Linked DNA regions of Homo sapiens: all the other regions are linked to region 3. Evidence: promoter capture Hi-C in 16 types of primary human blood cells and fetal thymus (Javierre and others, 2016). All regions are on one chromosome and are shown on one strand. The core of a region is centred on a gene start or on the middle of the fragment in contact, and the rest is flanking DNA. Distances in the headings are between cores, read along the strand shown.

Region 1 (3,786 bases), core at 1,217-3,716, 290 kb after region 3:
CACTGAGTGCACAGCACGGTTCTGGATGGCTTTCCAGAACCATCAGCTAGCTATAGGACCTTAGGTACATACTAAAGGACCCAACGTTTTTTTAACACCAACCATGTTCCAGAAACCTTGAAAAACACTTTGCATGTTATTACATTTAACCCTTGTGACAACTTTATGATTTAAAATGAGGACCCTTAGCAGAGAGTAGTCATTAATTTACTCAAAATGACATGGCCAATAAATGGCAAAGCTGGGAGCTGTATCAGATATTAGTGACTCCAAAGCCCATATTTTTCCCACTATACCAGAGCTTCTCAATCCTAATTCATATTAGTATCACCCAAGGAGCTTTCATATTGTAATGATGCCTGGGTCTCACCTCAGACCAATTACATCAGAATATCTGAGGATCTATCCTGGATGTTTTTTTCTGGATGTCTTTTCATCACCCTAAGTGATTATACTATGCAACCAGAGTTAACAACCACTGAACTGGGTGTGCTGAGACTCAGTGCCTTCAACTGTAAAGTAGATGGAGATCTCTACTTTCTACTTCTGTAGTCACCAGAAGGCTAATTACCCTGGGGCCAATAGCTGCCTGAGAAGCCCCAATCTGCACCTAGAGTAAGCAGTTGTCACCCATACTGTCAGATATTCTCCCAACTTTCTACTTAAGTGTGGGCTATGAGTACAGCTGTTTAAACTTCCAGGAATGGGACTCTAAGATATACAATTATTTCATATATTCATATATATGTGAACCCCAAATATCTGAGACAGATCTCAGTTAATTTAGAAAGTTTATTTTGCCAAGGTTGAGGATGCATGCCCATGACACAGCCTCAGGAGGTCCTGATGACATGTGTCCAAGTTGGTCAGAACACAGCTTGGTTTTATACATTTTAGGAAGACATGAGACGTCAATCAATATATATAAGCTGTACATTGGTTCTGTCTGGAAAGGCGGCACAACTTGAAGCTGGGAGGGAGCTTCCAGGTCACAGATACTTGAGAGACAAACGGTTCATTCTTGTGAGTTTCTGATTAGCCTTTCCAAAGGAGGCAATCAGATATGCATTTATCTCAGTGAGCAGAGGGGTGACTTTGAATAGAATGGGAAGCAGGTTTGCCCTAAGCAGTTCCCAGCTTGATTATTCCCTTAGTGATTTGGGGGCCCGAAGATTTATTTTCCTTTCATATATATATATATATATATATATATATATTTTTTTTTTTTTAAATCAGAACAAGGCCCTAAAACTCTAGAAAGATTCCCATGCCATTATTTTCTCTGTCTTTCTTTCCAGATATCAATCATAGCTATTTTGGTGAAATCCCTATTGCTCCAAACTATTTTAGTGCTGCCTCTCTGCCATCATGACAACAAAGGTCTTTTGAAAAATGTTCATAACCTTTGACCCAGAATTCTTTTAAGGAGGTAAACCAAAAGCAAGGAAAAAAAAGAACAAAAAAAGCTTTGGGAAGAAAGATGTTCACTGCAGTATTATTTATTATAGTGGAAAACTGGAGAAAACTCTTATGTGTAACAGTAGAAAAACAATTTAATAAAATATGAGGTAGCTTACTAAATGGAAAAATGCTTATTGCAAATGGTTTTTACATAGAGAGTTAACATGGAAAAATATTAATATTAATTCATGTTAAAATGCTGAATGAATGCAGGTACAAAATTACATAGTGATCTATGAGTTACATTACATAGTGTCATATCAACTATGTACGTCTTTTTATACACAGAAAAAAGAAGAAAAAATTATATTATTCCAAGGTTAAAATACCTAAAATTTAGAATATTTAGAATTGGGTTAAAGTACCTGAAATTGTTTCCACTATCAACCCAATTCTATATGTTTGAAGAACAGCATGTGAAGGTGGTTATGGAGCAGGCCCTGTCCAGAGAAATTTTATATCCGGCCCTGGGACCTCTAGGCCTGTATACACAGATAGAGGACTTATAAACAGCAGAGTTGAAACATGAGTGAATCTGAAAGAGCCAGTCCCTCAAGATGAATCCTGAGTGGCTACATAAATTTAATATAGAGCCAAACGGCCATTTACTGACTAGAGATTACACACTACTCTGAGTTCCTGGAAAACCCACAGTCGGCTTAACACTGGGGCTTTGACAGCTGACTGTTACCGCTCATGTGGCCTGAAGCAACGGAATAGGCTGTGCTCCCCATCAACCAATCAGGACTCAGCTGCATTGATCAATCAGAACCAAGCCAGTTTGAATTGTTCATTTGCATAAATGGACCTGATTGGGAACCCAGGTAGGAATTTTCTCTGTAAACGCCAAACTGTCTCTTTGTTCTCTTCATTTTACACTTAGGGCTATGTTTCCTCGTCTGTAAACTGTTCATTGTAATAAAGTCTGTTTCCTCTAAATTCCTTTTCAGAGAACTTTTGTTCACACATAAAACCACAGGTCACGTGATTTTTTTGTTTGTTTTTGGAATGGTATGCACAGATAAATTTAAAATTACAGTCAAGGGAGGGGTAGCTAAGACAGCCCAGTGACGATGATCAATTCTACGTCAGGAAGAAATCAAGAAGAAAATGGGGTTCACAAATGAGTTAGTAACAACCGAGATTTCCACTTTGAAAGTATCTTCACACCGTTATTTCACGGGATCCTCAAAACCCCCTGAGGTGGTAGGAAGGTGATTGTTGGTGTCAGTCCCATTTTGCAGAAGAGAAAAATGAGTGTCAGGCAGAGTGGCTCGCTCGGTGCCCTGGCGGCGGCAGCGCGCCAAGGCCCAAGGCCCCTCTGGTCTCTGGGCTTAGACCTACGGCAGGAGGCGGGGGAAGCCTGCAGCGCAGCTCAGCAGCAGGTGGCAAGCCCTCTACCCGCTGGGAACGTTCAGGGTTATCAGCCCGTGGGAAGCAAGGTAGGACCCGCAGCTTGCAAGAATCTGCAAGGTGGGAACGGCGTTCGGGATGTGTTTGGCCCCCCAAGGCCAAGGCACGAAGGGGTCCCAGGCGGGTCGCCAGCGGCGCGGCTTACAATGGCCGGTTCGACCCAGAACGGTCGCCGCCGCAAGGCGGGTGAACTTTCCCGCCCTATGCGCCTGTTTCCGCGGGCCAGGCCGTCCGCCCGCGCCGCGTGGCCTGCCTAGCTGCACCTTAGCCCCCATGCGCCGGGTAGGCCCGGGCCCCGCCGCCGCGCTCTGAGCCCGCGTGGGTCTCACAACCATGGCCCTCTTATCTGCTCCTGTGCTTCGGTGTTTGGTTTTCCCTGTTTGACAGACTGAACCTTGTACTTTCGCAAATAACAAGTGTTTGCTCAGCAATCCAAGCAGCACCGGCAAGATTGCAGGTGCTGCGGCGGGCATGAGAGGTCATGCATTCGGGATGCCAGGAGGTCCTGGAGTCAGGAGCCCTGCAGCCCCTTCAGGGATGCCAGTGGCTTGGGCTGAACCCCAGACTCTGCCCTCGAACTTGAAGGGAACTTGAAGCTTCTTTAGGCCAAGTTTTATTGAAGGGTGTCCTGGGACACAATTCAGTGACTAGTAAATTTTGGCCATCGGAAAGCTCTCTTTACCCTAAAGAAAGACGAATACACTTAATGACAATTATGATAATAATAAATTTAGAAAGGCAATGGTAATTCTTTTTTTCCTAACTTGTCTCACTCTACTTCTTTTAAATTCAAAACAGGTCCCCTTTTTGCTGTTGTTAAAAAGGATTTTTTAACTTCTGAAATTAAAGCAGAGTATTTCACTTTTGTTAAAAAATAGAACTTAATCCACAGTTGAGATTTTTGTTTTTCTA
Region 2 (3,956 bases), core at 107-2,606, 370 kb after region 3:
AGGAATTCAAGGCCAGGCTGGGAAACATAGCAAGACCTTGTCTCTAAAACAACAAAAACAACAACAAACCCTTCCTGATAGCACCTTTTTAATGTTTCATGGGTCCAACAGCTTTTCTTCTTTTTCAGAGGATACTAATTGCAGTTTCTTTGAAATTTTCTTCTTTTGTCTCTGGTTCCTCTAAGTTCCCCCATCCACATTTTTTTGCCTTGGTATATGCCTCTTATACCAAGAGGCTTTCCTATATAGGAAAGTTGGAGGCTTTCCTATATAGGAAAGTTGGAGGCTTTCCTATATAGGAAAGTTGGAGGCTTTCCTATATAGGAAAGTTGGAGGCTTTCCTATATAGGAAAGTTGGAGGCTTTCCTATAATGTCGTTGATCTTTGGTTGTCTGTTTATATTTAAGACTGAGGATGGAAAGCTGATTGTGGTGGGAAGTGGGAAAGCCTGGTGAATAGTAAGCTTCCCTGGAGGATTAGCAAGCAAGGAGCGAGCCAATTTCTGGCAGCCTTGCCAAATGTTAGTGTCATAGTAGGATCTTTTCATCGCCAGTTTTGTAGGGAGCAGATTTCTGGGAAATGAAGGGGAAAAAGGCTGGGAGGTCTTGCAGGCCAGTATGCAGATTACCCCAATTTTTATTCTCTTTTCAGTTCACCCTGGCTCCTACTTTTCCAGGCACCTGGAAGAACTTTTGATGTCTGACTCCCAGGGTTCTGAGGTGAGGTAGGCTGGCTTCTTGCTGGTCTCCCCTCTGTTGTTGTGTGGGTTTCAGTGTTTTCCTAGTCAGTCCCACTCAGCCAGTGGCTGCCAACCTCCTGAAACTGTGATCTGGTCTGCTGTTGTTTTCTTCTTCCACTCTTTTTTTTTTTTTTTGAGACAGAGTCTTGCTCTGTTGCCAGGCTGGAGTGCAGTGGCATGATCTCGGCTCATTGCAACCTCCACCTCCCGGGTTCAAGTGATTCTCCTGCCTCAGTCTCCCAAGTAGCTGGGAGTACAGGCGTGTGCCACCACGCCCAGCTAATTTTTTGCATTTTTAGTAGAGGCAGGGTTTCACTGTGTTAGCCAGGATGGTCTCGATCTCCTGACCTCGTGATCCACCCGCCTCGGCCTCCAAAGTGCTGGGATTACAGGCATGAGCCACCGCGCCCGGCTCTTCTTCCACTCTTTATTTCTGTGTGGATTTATAACTTTTACTTTCCTCTTCTATCTTTTGAGAGAGCGTTGGAATGGAGTGGAGACAAAAGCTCATGTTCAGTTTTCCATCTTATTAGGTAATCAATTTGTTATTATGCTTTTCAGGTAATCACTTCATGGTTTTTCTTTAAAAGAGGACTTCTTCAATGACATGTATAATTAAATACATCATAGTTTATTTTATCATGGGAATAAATGCTTGACTAGTTAAAGGATACTTAGCATATATTAGGGTTGCCTAGTGGACAAGCTGAATTCAGCACCATAGGCTTTGACCAAAAGAAAGCCCCCTGAAACCTACAAAAAGAGTTAGAAAGCATCACTTACTATATTCTTGGTGTCTCTGCAAAATCTCGCCAAATAGAAGAGTATCTCTTCTACTATATGGAAAGAACACACATGCACATTTATTTTGTGGTTTACTTTAGTATCTATTTCATTTCATCTTCATGGCTACCTTAAAATCTTACAGTTGAAATTTAACATGTTTTACCGTTAATTTCCTTGTGGGAAATGAAAAACAATAACTGACTGGACTGTTCTCCCTTCTTTATAGCAGTTTTTTAACAAATTATTATTCAGTGGGGATTAGATTTGATTCTGTTCGCCTCTGGGATGTTGTACTAGTCCACGGCTGGTCTTTCCTAGGAATTAATTGAAAAGGAAATGGTAGATATGATTAGATTGCTGGACCCAGTAAAAAGGTAGACGCTGAGAGGTACCCGTGGCCAACTGAGACAAGCTGCCCATGAATTATGCTGCTCTGTGCTTATTAAGACTTCATGTTGCACAGAAATGGATTGAAAAGATGTAAGTTATCCAGTCTCTCAATATTACCCTCAATAATTTACTTCCAAAAAGAAAAAAACTGATCTGAAGATTTCAGGCAAGAATTTAAAATTGCTAATCTCATTTCATAACTCCAAAAGGATTTTATGTCTGTCACTGTAAAACCTGCTGTGGATATTCCTAAGTCTCAATTCAGCCAACTTCCGAGAATTCCCACAGCATGAAAATACATGAATCGCCAGTGCTTGGGCTAAATGCAAACCAATTAAGCTTTTAAATAGCTGAAGTGTGAGCTAAAGCCTGCTACATAATTTAAATGCCATCTAGTGGCCAAATGTCATCTTTAGTCCTCATTCAAAACAGTTTTGGTGCCTTCTGGTATTTATCTTAGGGTGATATACCAAATAGTTTTGAGTCAATCATATGATAGCCACTTCTGCTTTCAGAGTGAAACGAAATTGGAATATGATAAAAAATGTTTAACAGCTTGAAATGTGCGTAAGTCCCAGCTTTTATTCCAGGGTCATCTGCTTATATGGCTATAAAACAGAGTTGTTGCTTGGTTTGACTAGTATGCCATCAAATAGTACCCGTAAGCTGGGCACAGTGGCTCACACCTGTAATCCCAGTACTTTGGGAGGCCGAGGCAGGTGGATCACTTGAAGCCAGGAGCTCAAGACCATCCTAACCAACATGGTGAAATCCCATATCTACTAAAAATACAAAAAATTACCAGGCATGGTGGTGCATGCCTGTAGTCCCAGCTCCTCGGGGAGGTTGAGGTGGGAGAATCACTTAAAGCCAGGAGGCAGAGTTTGCAGTGAGCCGACATTGCACCACGGCACTCCAACCTGGGTGACAGAGCGAGACCTTGTCTCAAAACCAACCAACCAACCAACCAAACAAAAAACCCAAATAGCACCCATAGTTATAATTTACTATTTTGCCATTGAAAAATTAAAGCATATATGTAATGTTAGGAAGCTAATATAGGACCGTATTTTAATCATTGATAGACAGAGGATTTAAAGGATCAGGCTTCAGTCTTAGCAAATGAAGTAGCTGTGAGAGAGACATATCATTTGTCCATAAGTAAGTGCCATGCACAAGCACATTAGTATGATTATAATAATAGTGGCCTTGAGAGCAGCAGCCAACATAGATTAAATGCTTATATGCCAGGTACTGTTCTGCATGCTCTGCTTGTATTAATTCATTTGATCTTCACAATAACCTAATGAGGTAGGTATTGTGGTTGCACCCATTTTATAGGCAAATTGGGGCACAGAGTGGTTAAATTTCATGCCCACTAGAGAGAGGCCGAATAGGAATTGGAGCATTTGGAGTATCCTTTGGTCTTTTAGCTGGTTTGGATTTTGGGTAGTGCTTTGGTGGAAGGATCCTCAGAGAATCATGAAAGACCCTTTAATATAACAAGGACACAGTCAGCACTTGATCATCCTATGATCTAGGCAGAGTCTAGATCTAGGCAATGCTCTAGGAAGAGTCTGGGAATGTTGGCTCAAGGATGAGGCTGTGCAAACAAGGCTCTCTCTGGGTCCCTGGCAAGAACAGCTTTGGTTAGACCTACCTGCTCTTTTGGCTCTGTGGGGGTAAATCATCTCTGGAGAATTGAGAGTGGATTTTGCTTTTGTATAATTGTGGTCTGGGGTTATTTGTAACGTCTTTCTCTCTCTGTTTAGATCATAGAGTTGATTGATTTGAGTGCAACCAAACTAGCTGTGGTCATTCAATAAATAAGACACCATTAAGCATTTTTCTTCTTACTGGTCACAGATATGGTTCTATTCTTTCACTTTGGACATGTGATCATATAAAGCCTTAAGGATAAGAAATTAGGTTACTACCTCACATAGGGATTTGTTGATTGTATTGTATTGCATTATTGTATTGTATTTATTTATTTATTTTGAGACAGAGTTTCACTCTGTTGCCCACGCTGGAGTGCAGT
Region 3 (3,871 bases), core at 360-2,859:
ATTATCACAAAATGAGAGCAGTCCTACCCTCACTATCTCTCAGATAAATATGACGAGGATGAATAGCTCTGAAAGTTATTTGGGCTTCTCATAAGCATGTTATAGTTGACCACTTGGTTGACTGTCCTCTAGGCCTCTTAATCCTTTCTTCTTTGAGGGAGTGGAAACAGAAAATCAAGGGTAGGCATTGGGGCAAAAATATCAGTCAGGTTAAATGTACAAGATACATCTACTAGACTTTTTTTTTTTTTTTTTTTTTTGAGACTGAGTCTTGGTCTGTCGCCCAGGCTGGAGTGCAGTGGCATTATCTCGGCTCAGGGTAAGCTCTGCCTCCCAGGTTCACGCCATTCTCCTGCCTCAGCCTCCCGAGTAGCCCAAGTAGCTGGGACTACAGGCGCCCGCCACCACGCCCGGCTACTTTTTTGTATTTTTAGTAGAGACGGGGTTTCACCGTGTTAGCCAGGATGATCTCGATCTCCTGACCTTGTGATCTGCCCGCCTTGGCCTCCCAAAGTGCTGGAATTACAGGCCCGAGCCACCGCGCCCAGCCACATCTACTAGACTTTTTAGTGCCAAGGAACAAGGCACTAGTGTTCAGTACTTCCTGGTGTCATTAATTAGTAGTTATCAATAAGCAGTTTGGTGTACCGATACTGCTCTGCGTCATTTAATCACTTCTCTAAATCTATAGGTTCAATTAATTTTCTTTGTATTTACTTAATCTTATTTTATTCAATAGCAAACCAGTCTCTTTGCCTGCTACAGAGCCATCGATGTTTTCTTTGGTTCTTGGAAGAACTGTACTTCGACCTTATATAATCCTCAGAAAGGCAAGATCTGGACTACGAATGAGTCACCTGCTAATTACACCAATGGCTGCTCCTGCCTTGACCAGTCACAGAGTATCACCCTATCTCGGTATGCTGCTCTGCTTGTCGCGTAGTAGGTCTATAAATACTTGTTTTATGAATGAATGTATGAACAAAGGGAAGTTAGTCACGTGTAAGGGTGGGTAGCCTGCGATAAATAAAGTGTAGACTAGGAGGTCTCAAAATACTTTTTGAACTAAGCCCTTAATCTTCACTACTTTGGACTAGAATGGAAATGTCACCAACGCCTTCCCAATTAATTTGTCCTGGCTGTAATGACTGAAACCAGAACTTCCCTTTACACCCATGACCTCTACAGGCATCTCTTTTTCCTCTGCTCAAGAACAGTAACTGCTCACTGCTGTGTCTACCACATAGGCCCCAGAGCAAGGGGTGATAGGTAGGGCTATAGGCTCCCGACTCCCGACTCCCGGCAGTGCCTCTCTCCAACCCCCCACGAGGCTGGGACAGCTCCCTCCATCTCAGCAGTCGCTACCAAGCACCCGACCCACTCTCGCCCACCTCATCCCTCGATCCCCTTCCCTCCCTCTCACAGCATTCCGCGTAAGACTAGCCCAGCCTTCCGAGCCCCACCACCAGTTTTCCCACTTCCGCCCGGCGCGTGAGACCCTGGGCGGTGCAGGGGAGCGTTGACGACAGACGTGGGCCGTGACGTCGCCGCGCCCTGACGTCCAGCCGACTGGCGGCGCGGTCGCCCGGGAGACCGGGAAAGCCGTTTCACACCCGTCCTAGTCGAAGTCGAGGTGAGGGACGATGGCTTTCCTCAGCCTGGGATGACCCGGTCCTCCAAATGCAGTTCCGGAGTGGAGGCGTGCTCGCACCCGGGGAGAGAGCCAGAAAGCTGAGCCGCGGCGCCCCAGCGAGAGCACGAGGCCCCGGGTCTGGACTCCGCCACCACGCTCCTCTGCGGCCCCTTCCTGGTGTCTGCCAGCCCGCGGGGCCCAGGCGCGGTCCGCCTTCCTCCCAGCCCCGGGGAACGCGCGGCTCTGCTTCCTCACCCCCGCACCCTCCTCCTCCTCCTCTTCCGGCCACTGCAGGTCCAGGGGGAACGGGGTTAGAAAGGGACAGATTTGAAAGCCATTCCAGCAGTTTTGTCTGGCCTTGCGGTTGGTTTCTGTGTGGAAGAGCCTGCCGCTTCAGGAAAGTCTTAGGATGTGAACTCCCGCCTTCACCTGCCCCTGACCTGCTCGTTGTGGGTGATTCACGCCATGGGAATGGTTCTTTACGTAAGGGCTTGAAAGCTGAACGTGAGTTAATGGCCTGACGTGACACTAGTGTGAGAAACGGAATTGGAAACGAACAAGGACGTGTCTGCATTTTAAAAAATGTCTTTTCGGTGATCTTGTTAGAGAGGAGGTTCACAAACACCCACGTAGCTGCAGCCACTTATCACTGCACCTCTTGCCAAAGTGCGGTCCACATACGTGCAATGAGAAAGGATTAAAGGGACTTGTTTGATAACACACGCAAAACTATGTAAGACTAAATTTAAAAAATTACAGATTTTCCCTGTTGCCAAAAGGGAAAGACCCTTCTTTTTTCTTGAGAAACTTAGTATTTGTGAATGCTTCCTCTATTTAATATGTATGCAAATGTTTTTAAAGACCTAGGAATGCTTTTCTTGAGGACCTGGAAGCCATTTCTTTAAAATGTAAACATCAAGGAAGATAGGGCCCCAGTCTCCTTGTCACTTTGGGAGTTTAACCTAGGTGCGTTATTCCTAATTGTAAACACCTGTTTCGTTATGGAGCTGTGCATTACTTAGGAGGAAAGCCGTTAGCTAACACAGGTGGTTACCCCAATTACCAGATGAATTAAAGAGGAAATATAAAAGAATGTATAGAACACTATGTTAAGCCCTCTTACATGAGGACACGTTACCAGTTTCCTTGAGAATGTGTAATGGATTGTGTCTCCTTGGCTGTATAAAAGAGGGATTTCCTTCTCTCTTTGTAACCTCATTAGCAGATTAGCCGTGATGTGCATCAAAGTCTAGTTGAATGCCTAATAAAATTGTTGTCTTTCTGCATTGTGGAGCATTTTCTGGGTTGGCAGGACTTTTAATTTTTAGTTTCCCCCCGATAATCAGAACCTGCCAATTCCTCCCCTTCTTATGCTAAGGCCATAAAGTTGGAATAGATTCACAGACAATGAAGGCACTACACAAAAACTGTTCTACTGGTGCTTTGTTTATACTGTCATTTAGATCCGTGCTCTCAGATAACTTTATGGGTGAAATTTTAAAAGGATGTTTAGATGGTAATTTTTTGGAAAATTCTCCCAATAGAGTTGAAGTTACTATTTCATTTTACTGATGGCAAATCCACCATTAAATGACAGAAATGAGAATAATGAGCCTTCTGGGCTCTTGCCACATGATTATGACAATCTGCCAAACATCAGATTATGTTTGGGCTTATGTTGACATGGTTAATGGTACCTCCATTGCAGACCTCAGTTAACTTTACCACACATGTCATATTATGTTTTATGTGGGAAGACATAAAGCTCATTAGTTTTTGGTTTTAAACAGCAACTCACTGAAATGAGTCTTTGTGCTAACACAGGGAACAAGGAATCTTCTCTTCCACTAGTGGTTGCACCATTTACAAAGATAATGCCACTATAGGACTTTTTGACAACTACGGTTTCCCTGCTACCTTGCTGTATGGCCGGGGTTGCTCTCTCTGATAGAGTACTTTGCTTCTCCAGTCTCTTGTCAAAATCCTGCCCTGATTGAATACAAGCAACCTCAGGAAGCCTTCACTAACTCCCACCTCTCATCTGAAACATAAGATCTTTTCCTTTCTTGAACTCTTAGACTGCTCTTGTCTATGCCTTCTTCCCTGCTATGGAATTGTGCCTGTATCATCTGACTCTGCTGCCACTGCCCTCGCCCTTCTCCTGACTTCTTAGATATGTATAAACAGCCCTTACTCGTGAGGGAAGGATTTAAAAAAAAAAACAAAAAACCCAAAGTG
Region 4 (3,701 bases), core at 876-3,375, 270 kb after region 3:
TGGGATACTAAGCTGCCTGAAGGGTTTGCATTTCCCATGGTGCCCAGTGCAGTGCCGAGAATGAACTTGTAGACCCTTTATTGCTGTGGCTAAGATGGAGGAGGTTTGGAAATCTTTGACAGCTGAGCCCTGTGACAGAAGAGAACAAGAATTCCTGGTCCTCCCAACACCTCGGTATGTGTACTCTGGTGCTGATGTTCAAGGTCGTGGTCATTCCAGTCATGCATTCAGCAGGCAGTCACTGAGCACCTACCAGACACTGCTCAAGCAAAGCAGACTAAAACCTCAAGGAGCTTACTCCTAAAGTAAGCTATACGTTTTGCTATATATTGTGTATCAAAATGCTGATTAATGCTATGGAGAGAAAGGAAACAGGAAATGGGAAAGCAGGGATTATAGGTTGAGGGTTATGTAACATGAAATGGGGTCTTTAAGAAGTCTGAACTGAAGACAGCTCCCTCAGTTACCTAAGCACCAACAACTGTGGCTGGTGACACATTAGGAGCCCTGCAAAGAAAGTGGCCAGCCACCTAATCCCAGAGTTTCCAGGAAGTGGCCAGTTGGAGCCAAGACAGGGTGGTGTGCATCCTCCTTCATACCCCAAGAGTTTTATTATGTGGTGAGTGGAGCTGGTACAGCCAGAGTCTGAAGCAGTCGAGAGGGCATGCCTGGGAAGGTAACAGTCCTTTGTTCTGGAAATGATGAGAAGGTTTGTTTAGATGTAGTCAGGTCCCCAGGCAATGTCTTCTGGGGAAGAAGAGCATCCAGCTCCCTAAAGGAAAGATTTGGCAAGGCCAAGAGAGAAGGTCAAGGCCCTGACCAAGAGAATCAGAATGGAGCATAGATGCCACATCGCTGGAATGGGCTAGGAGGAGTGAGCACATGGGGTACAGGCCCCATCTTTCATGGGCATCAGGCTACAGCTGGGAGGGGAGAAAAGAGAACTTAGGGTCATGTGTAGACCTTTAGGCTGGAACAGAGGGTTGGTATAGGATGACCAGGTTACAGGGGCTTTGGAATCAAGTCAAGGAATATGTGTTTTTCTCAGATCTACTAACACTGGCTCAGGTGTATCTTTGCAGTAGCCAGGACTTGCTTGTTCTGTCATCTGTGTAAGCACCACAGTTCTTTTCTTTTCCTTTTTCTTTGGAGGGGGGGTGGGTGGGATGGAGTCTCACTCTGTCACCCAGGCTGGAATGCAGTGGCATGATCTCCACTCACTGCAACTTCCAGCTCCCTGGTTCAAGCGATTCTTCTGGCTCAGCCTCCCGAGTAGTTGGGACTACAGGCGTGCGCCATCACACCTGGCTAATTTTTGTATTTTTAGTAAAGATGGGGTTTCACCATATTGGCCAGGCTAGTCTCGAACTCCTGACCTTGTGATCTGCCCTCCCTGGCCTCCCAAAGTTCTGGGATTATAGGTATGAGCCACCCGTGCCTGGCCCCACCACAGTTCTTTTAACCATAAGCCAAATAACAATGAAATAAACTGTCAGTTCCCTGGGAGGGCAGCTAGGAATGGGAAGGAAGGTGAAATGGCAAGGAATCCCCGTTTTTCGTGCCCAGAGTATAATTCTCAGTGGAAACCAAGCAGAAACAGACTTAAACAAACCCCTGGGGAGGAGAAAAGCATGTCTAGTAAAGAGTGACCAGCGCAGTTTGCCCTCCTGTATGAATACCAGGGTCACAACAACGTGTCATGTTGCCACTTTGATCACAGGATTTTGGTCAGAAAGAATGTGGGATTTGGACTTTGAGTTTGGCTCTTGACTGTCACCTGTTCAGTGTGTGACCTTGGGTAAGTTTCTTTACCCTCTGAGCCTTCGTTTCCTCATCTGTATAGTGGGAATGTGCAATCTGGAGTCTGTGCTAGGATTCCGTCACATCTAGTGGACTAGCAGGGAAACCCTACAGGGATCTGGGAAAACTCCCTTCTTGAGGAAATGCAGGGAGCTGCGCACAGTGGGCTCACCAAAAGGTGAAGCATCATACTGGAGAAAGGAGTAGTTTTGAGTACACTGTGGTAACAGGGGCGGAACCCCATCCTTCACCCTACCCCATATCAGACCCATGTCTCATTCCTGGGCAGAGTTGTCACTAAAAGCTAAAGGGACTATTTGTTAGTGCTTCATAAGACACTGGAGTACAGGGTCACTGAGATGAAACTCCTATAAATGAACATAAGAGAGAAAAAGGCAACTTTTCCACCTGACAATCCACAGAGCAACTTTACCAGAGTGAGATGGCAGAGCAGAGTAAGGGACAGTGCCTGGGCATTGATTTGCTGATGAGCACATGTAAGACCTCCTACCCCAGGAACTCCCCAAAAGTGCAGGGTAGAAGGTGCTTTGCAGGGAGCTAGGTTCAAAGTGAGAAATGGTGGTAACAAACTAACATTTAGATTATTAGTCTTGATGTGACTTTATTTGTGCATGCGTAGTGTATCACACAGGGTTCTCTAGAGAAACAGAACCAATAGGACATATACAGATATGTAGAAGGGGATCTATTACGGGAATTGGCTCATGCAATTGGCTCGAGAAATTCCATGTTATGCAGTCTGCAAGCTGGAGAACCAGGACAGGTGGGGGTATAATTCAGTCTGATACTGAAAGCCCCAGAACCAGGGGAGCCGATGCTGTAACTCCCAGTCAGAGGCCCAAGGTCTGAGAACGCAGGTGACAGCTTATGTAGAGAATGCAGCTTATGTAAGTCCCAGAGTTGGAAGGCCCAAGAACCTTGAATTCTGGTGTTGGAAGCGAAAGAAGATAACGTCCTGGCTCCAGAAGGGAGAGCAAATTCACCTTTCCTCCACATTTTTGTGGAGGCTGAGGGCCAGTTGGATGCTGCCCACCTGCATTGGTGGGGGTGATCTATACTTAGTCCACTGATTCAAATGCTAATGTCTTCCAGAAACACCCTCACAGACAACCCAGAAATATTGTTTTATCATCTATCTGGATGCCCCTTAACCCAGTGTGGTCGACACAAAATTAACCATCACACCTGGTGGGGGAAACTTGGCTAATACCTACCTCATGGGAATCAAACAGGATGTTCCCAAGCATGAGCCTGGACATGGCAAATACACAGTAAATGGCAAATTCCCTCACAAACCATCCAGGGAACCCACTGGAACCATTGCAGAATGCTCAGAACATCTCCTGGTGTGTTTGGGGATTGGACAACATTCTTGTAGCAAATATCTTTAATCAAAAAGTAACTTAACACATATCTTTGAGCATGTATATGTTCCAGTAAAGTATACATGCTAAGAGGGGTTTGAAATTATCTTTTCTTCTCAGCACTTTACAGTTTACAAAATACTTCAATGTGAATTTTAGTCACGTTAGCTCTTGCAACAACTTAATAATGTAGGATCCCCACATATAAATCAGAAGATTGCATTTCAAAGAGGTGAAGTGACTTGTCCTTAATAACCCAGCTAATAAGGGGTGCAGCTGGACTCAAACCTGGTCTCTTTCCATTAAAGTCTGGTAGAAAACTAAGACCAAAACAAATACAATAATGACAGAAAAAAAAAAAAACCACAGCAAATACGAAAACCTGTGGTTCTGACTCAAAGTGCTGGAGACAAAGACAAATGTCTGTGGCTGGACATCCAGAAGGAGTCAGCTGGGACCTGAGCCGATCTAACTAGAAAATGAAAGGGTGCTGCTGAGGACAGGGAGGCAGGGATG
Region 5 (4,133 bases), core at 112-2,611, 310 kb before region 3:
ATTGCTGGGACTCACTAAGCTCTGTCCTTCCTCAGGGCCTAGGCGCATACTACATCATCTGCCTCGAATGCTCTTCCACTGTTCTTCACAAGGATGGTTCCTTTTTTCTTTTTTATGCCTAAACATGATTGCTCTTCAGTGAGACCTTCCTTACTGCACTAAATATGTCTTCTCTTTCATTTCCTGTCCCAGTCCCCTGTGTTATTTTCTTTATAACACTTTACATTTTATAATGACTTACTTGTTTACCCCTCCATCTCTCACTCAACTTGAAACTCCCTGAGTCCAGGAAATTTGTGTCTGTTTTACTCACAGAAGAATCCAGCAACCAGCACAGTGACTGGCAAACATTAAGCTTTTAATACTTGTGTGTTGTATAATTAAATGCATGTGCAGGAAGAGTCACAACTTCCACTCCATCTTCACTGCTTTTGTCAAGGACTCCCACGTGCCCAAGCCACCTGTCAGCATTCTGTGCCTGTCTTACTTGATGGCAGAGACAGAGTTAAGGGAGAGGCCAGGTCCAGTTTATTCTCTGTTAACCTCTTCTGTGTTTATCAGCATGTTTGATTCACCACAGTATCTCCAGCACCCAGAACAGCAGACACCTAGTAGATACTGTTGATTGGCTGAACTCCCAGCTCTGAATGACACAGGATGTGAAGGGAAAGGGAGCTGGTGCAGTGATGGAGACATCTAAAGACAGAATCTATCTGGGGCAGAGATTCATATCATTGTTTTCAACTTCTGGAACTGTTTATCATAGGCACGCATCTCCATTTGTATAATGAAAGAGAAGAAAAGCGGTTCCTTACACTTTTTTAATCATATGTTTTATAAATGGAGAATGAACTTCATAGTTTTAGTTGCTAGGCAATAATTTGATATTCTAGAGTCTTTCTCCAAGAAAAAGAAAACTATTTTGCTTATAAGCCAGCTTTTACCTCTGTTGGACACACAATGGTGAATGAAAGCATTTCCATCTTCCAAAAAAGAAATCAAGGGCAATTAAAAATAGTTTACAGAAGGACGGGAGCAGTGGCTCACGCCTGTAATCCCAGTACTTTGGGAGGCCGAGGTGGGAGGATCACGAGGTCAGGAGATCGAGACCATCCTGGCTAACACGGTGAAACCCTGTCTCTACCAAAAATACAAAAAGTTAGCCGGGTGTGGTGGCGGGCACCTGTAGTCCCAGCTACTCGGGAGGCTGAGGCAGGAGAATGGCATGAACCCGGGAGGCGGAGCCTGCAGGGAGCCGAGATCTTGCCACTGCACTCCAGCCTGGGCCAAAGGGCAAGACTCCATCTCAAAAAAAAAACAACAACAACAAAAAAGTTTACACCAGCCAAACAAGCAAAGAAGCTAAGACCCTGACTCTGGCCATTTCATTCCAAATCCTGTTCCGTATCAATCTAGACAGTGCCTGCTCATGAGAAATAATAATAATAATAAAAAAATACATCTACTGCAACTCTACTTTGAGACAAGGATTTGGTTCTTCTGAAGGGCATTTAACTGACTGGTATTACTGAGAAATAAAAAATCCCAAGGCCTGTGACCCTTTGAAACTGTCGAGTGACCTGGCATCCTGTTAAACACTGACCTGCTTTGTAGAAGAAATCCAACCCTGTCTGTGAATTTTAACTAAGTTAAACTTGAGGGTCTCCATGCTCTCTTGTTCTGCAGCACATCTGGCTGGTGCCAAGAGGATTTGCTCAGCTCCATCCTCTGGGGAAGGGATTCATTTTCCTGTTTAGGAAATGTGATGTCGAGCTCCATGAGGCTGATGAGCACGCTGGGTGGGACCACAAACAGGCCCCAGTGAAATCAATTATGTGGGTGTCTTAGGACAAAATTTGGTTCAAAGTGATCAAGGACAGGGTGTGTCATTGCAAGCTGTGAGCCACGGTGACTTCGGCTGTTTGTTCAGCATTTAATATGTTTATCTTTCTGCTAAACACATTGTTGTTGAGTCACCTCTCTTAGAGACCCATTCTGTGTGAGGTCCAGCTCTGCAAGTCCAATATACAAAGACAAGCCTTTCACCTTCAATGACCTTACATTCTACAAAGTTGAAACAAATGCCTTCTCTTACTTCTCACTTTAGTCGGGAAGGTACTCAGGCTCTTAAAAAGGTAAATCATGTATTCTTTATTAGGCCAGGAATCATCAAGCAATAAAAGTAAAGGAAGAACTTAAAATGGTCATTATATTTTCAATATCATTTAGTGTTGTTGCTGCAAATGGAAAATGGAATGTCAGTTTGCCCAAAGGTACCATCAGCCTTCAAACCATCAATATTTCCTGTCAGACTATAATGTTGTCACCAATATTAGGCTAATTTTATTAATCAAACAAACAATTGCATTAAGCTTCTAAGCTTTGGCTAGAGGAGTAAAAATCGCATAACTTTGAAAAGTAGACAAATTCATGAAATGCTGTCTGTTTGACCTTCCACAGAAATTGTCCGAGCCATGACACATGTGATAAACCAAGGCATGGCGATGTACTGGGGCACCTCGAGATGGAGTGCTATGGAGATCATGGTAATTTAACTTCTATTTTTAAATGGCTATTGAGTACCTTATTATTGCTTTTCAGATGCCATGCATAAATTGCAAGATCTTTTGCAAACTTTTCTCACAATCACTATGGCACTGGAATTCTAGAATCAATTCCATCATTACAGAGATGGATATTGGAGCCGGAGCTCATCCGTTCAGAATACAACAGAGAATACAGTGTTCTTTGGTGGCAAGAGGGTAAAGTGAATTTCACAGCTAATGAGATATATTAACAGAGTATTCTAGTTTTCTTATAAAAAACTGTATTAACTATACTGTTTATACCAAGCTAATTACAGATACTTTTATATGTTAGTCTAAGTCTTATTTCTTTAGGAACTTAAAAATAGTTAAACTACATTTTCTTTATCGTAGTGTACAATTCACACCTTGACTAATTTGCTCTGGACTTAACTCAATCCAAACCCTCCCAAAGAATTAATAAGGGTTTCCTACCTTTCATATTGCTCTTAGTGAAATCGGTGGTGACAAATTTGCTTATTATTTGGCATCCTACATGTTTCTTGGTTTGTACTGATTTCACCAAAGTAAACATTTCTCATGCATACAAATTACAGCGAAGCCTTATTTCTCATCAGTATAAATTTGGTTGTAATCTCATTCCTCCCTAGGAAGCCTATTCTGTAGCAAGACAGTTCAATATGATCCCACCGGTCTGTGAACAAGCTGAGTACCATCTTTTCCAGAGAGAGAAAGTGGAGGTCCAGCTGCCAGAGCTCTACCACAAAATAGGTAATCTTCAAAATAAAAGCTACTGAGTATTTTTAACAAGAGAAAGATCACTGATTCGGGGAAAAAATAAAAACAGTGTTATTGAAATGCTTTCCTAAATGTCCCTAATTAACATAGACATTGTAAGAACCATGCATTCCAGAGATTGTAGCAGAATCAAAATGTAGCAGAATCTGCATTTAGTCTACAGGGTATCACTGATGAAAGCCAAGCAGAGTTGTAAATTGTGACTGGTATTTCAGCTGTACTCAGCAGGTGTTCAAAAAAAAAATGCATACTGAATAAAAGGAACAACCAATGAATAAGTTCATTTTTCATTGGTGCTTGCTCGAGTAAACAATGACTACCTTTCAAAAAAAATCATGGATATATACATCTGTATCCACTACCCTGGCCCTGGCACTGAGTTAGAAATGGGAAATTCAACAACTATTAAGTCGGGTACTATACATTTGTGCAGATAGAACTAATGCCTTCAGAGACAGGGGAAATATATCTATATATAATATACCCAAGAAATTTAGACATTAGGAAAAGATGAACAAGCCACATTTTCAGGCTTATTTATCAAAAGTTTCCAGAAATAACTTTCTTCCTAAGAAACAGAAGTTCATATGAGCAGGAAAATTCTGGGAAAAGGAGAAAAAGATAAAACTTCAATAACAACCGTAATAATTGTTATTATTGCTCTCACTTATTGAGTGTTTACTATGTACCAGGTGTGTGCTCCTGCTGTGTACCAGGCACTATGTTAGGTACTAAATGGACAAGGACAACAAAACTTCGTGGATGAGCCACATTTTTCAGGCTTTCTGA

The links. The method cuts DNA at HindIII sites, captures the fragments that hold promoters and counts their contacts. A CHiCAGO score of 5 or more calls a contact.
Region 1: a contact is called between a fragment that was not itself captured here and the fragment with the promoter of LEKR1 in region 3, in 7 of 17 cell types (non-activated CD4 T cells, naive CD8 T cells, activated CD4 T cells and 4 more). The highest score is 9.5, in non-activated CD4 T cells.
Region 2: a fragment that was not itself captured here is called in contact with the fragment with the promoter of LEKR1 in region 3 in 2 of 17 cell types (activated CD4 T cells and naive CD4 T cells); the score reaches 6.0 in activated CD4 T cells.
Region 4: a fragment that was not itself captured here is called in contact with the fragment with the promoter of LEKR1 in region 3 in 9 of 17 cell types (non-activated CD4 T cells, naive CD8 T cells, activated CD4 T cells and 6 more); the score reaches 12.8 in non-activated CD4 T cells.
Region 5: a contact is called between a fragment that was not itself captured here and the fragment with the promoter of LEKR1 in region 3, in 4 of 17 cell types (naive CD8 T cells, non-activated CD4 T cells, activated CD4 T cells and 1 more). The highest score is 6.9, in naive CD8 T cells.

What each region holds. Positions count from the first base shown.
Region 1 is chr3:157,117,444-157,121,229 of GRCh38, forward strand. The region is part of intron 1 of LINC00880 (long intergenic non-protein coding RNA 880); the gene reads right to left. Among named protein-coding and RNA genes, the nearest start is that of LINC00880, 3.7 kb to the right of the region's middle. The HindIII fragment of the contact is 2,004 bases long and covers 1,465-3,468 here.
Region 2 is chr3:157,199,548-157,203,503 of GRCh38, forward strand. All of the region lies in intron 2 of LOC101928236 (a long non-coding RNA gene), which reads left to right. Among named protein-coding and RNA genes, the nearest start is that of CCNL1, 41 kb to the left of the region's middle. RefSeq lists a silencer at 2,355-2,404. The HindIII fragment of the contact is 1,791 bases long and covers 462-2,252 here.
Region 3 is chr3:156,824,744-156,828,614 of GRCh38, forward strand. It overlaps LEKR1 (leucine, glutamate and lysine rich 1), which reads left to right and starts at 1,610. Exons shown (of 13, transcript NM_001004316.3): 1 at 1,610-1,633. RefSeq lists an enhancer at 2,083-2,142 and a silencer at 2,457-2,751. The HindIII fragment of the contact is 11,302 bases long and covers 1-3,871 here.
Region 4 is chr3:157,094,734-157,098,434 of GRCh38, forward strand. All of the region lies in intron 3 of LINC00880 (long intergenic non-protein coding RNA 880), which reads right to left. The region is part of intron 1 of LINC00881 (long intergenic non-protein coding RNA 881); the gene reads left to right. Among named protein-coding and RNA genes, the nearest start is that of LINC00881, 6.7 kb to the left of the region's middle. The HindIII fragment of the contact is 6,225 bases long and covers 1-3,701 here.
Region 5 is chr3:156,511,904-156,516,036 of GRCh38, forward strand. It overlaps KCNAB1 (potassium voltage-gated channel subfamily A regulatory beta subunit 1), which reads left to right. Exons shown (of 14, transcript NM_172160.3): 9 at 2,461-2,546; 10 at 3,197-3,317. Among named protein-coding and RNA genes, the nearest start is that of SSR3, 41 kb to the right of the region's middle. The HindIII fragment of the contact is 2,017 bases long and covers 354-2,370 here.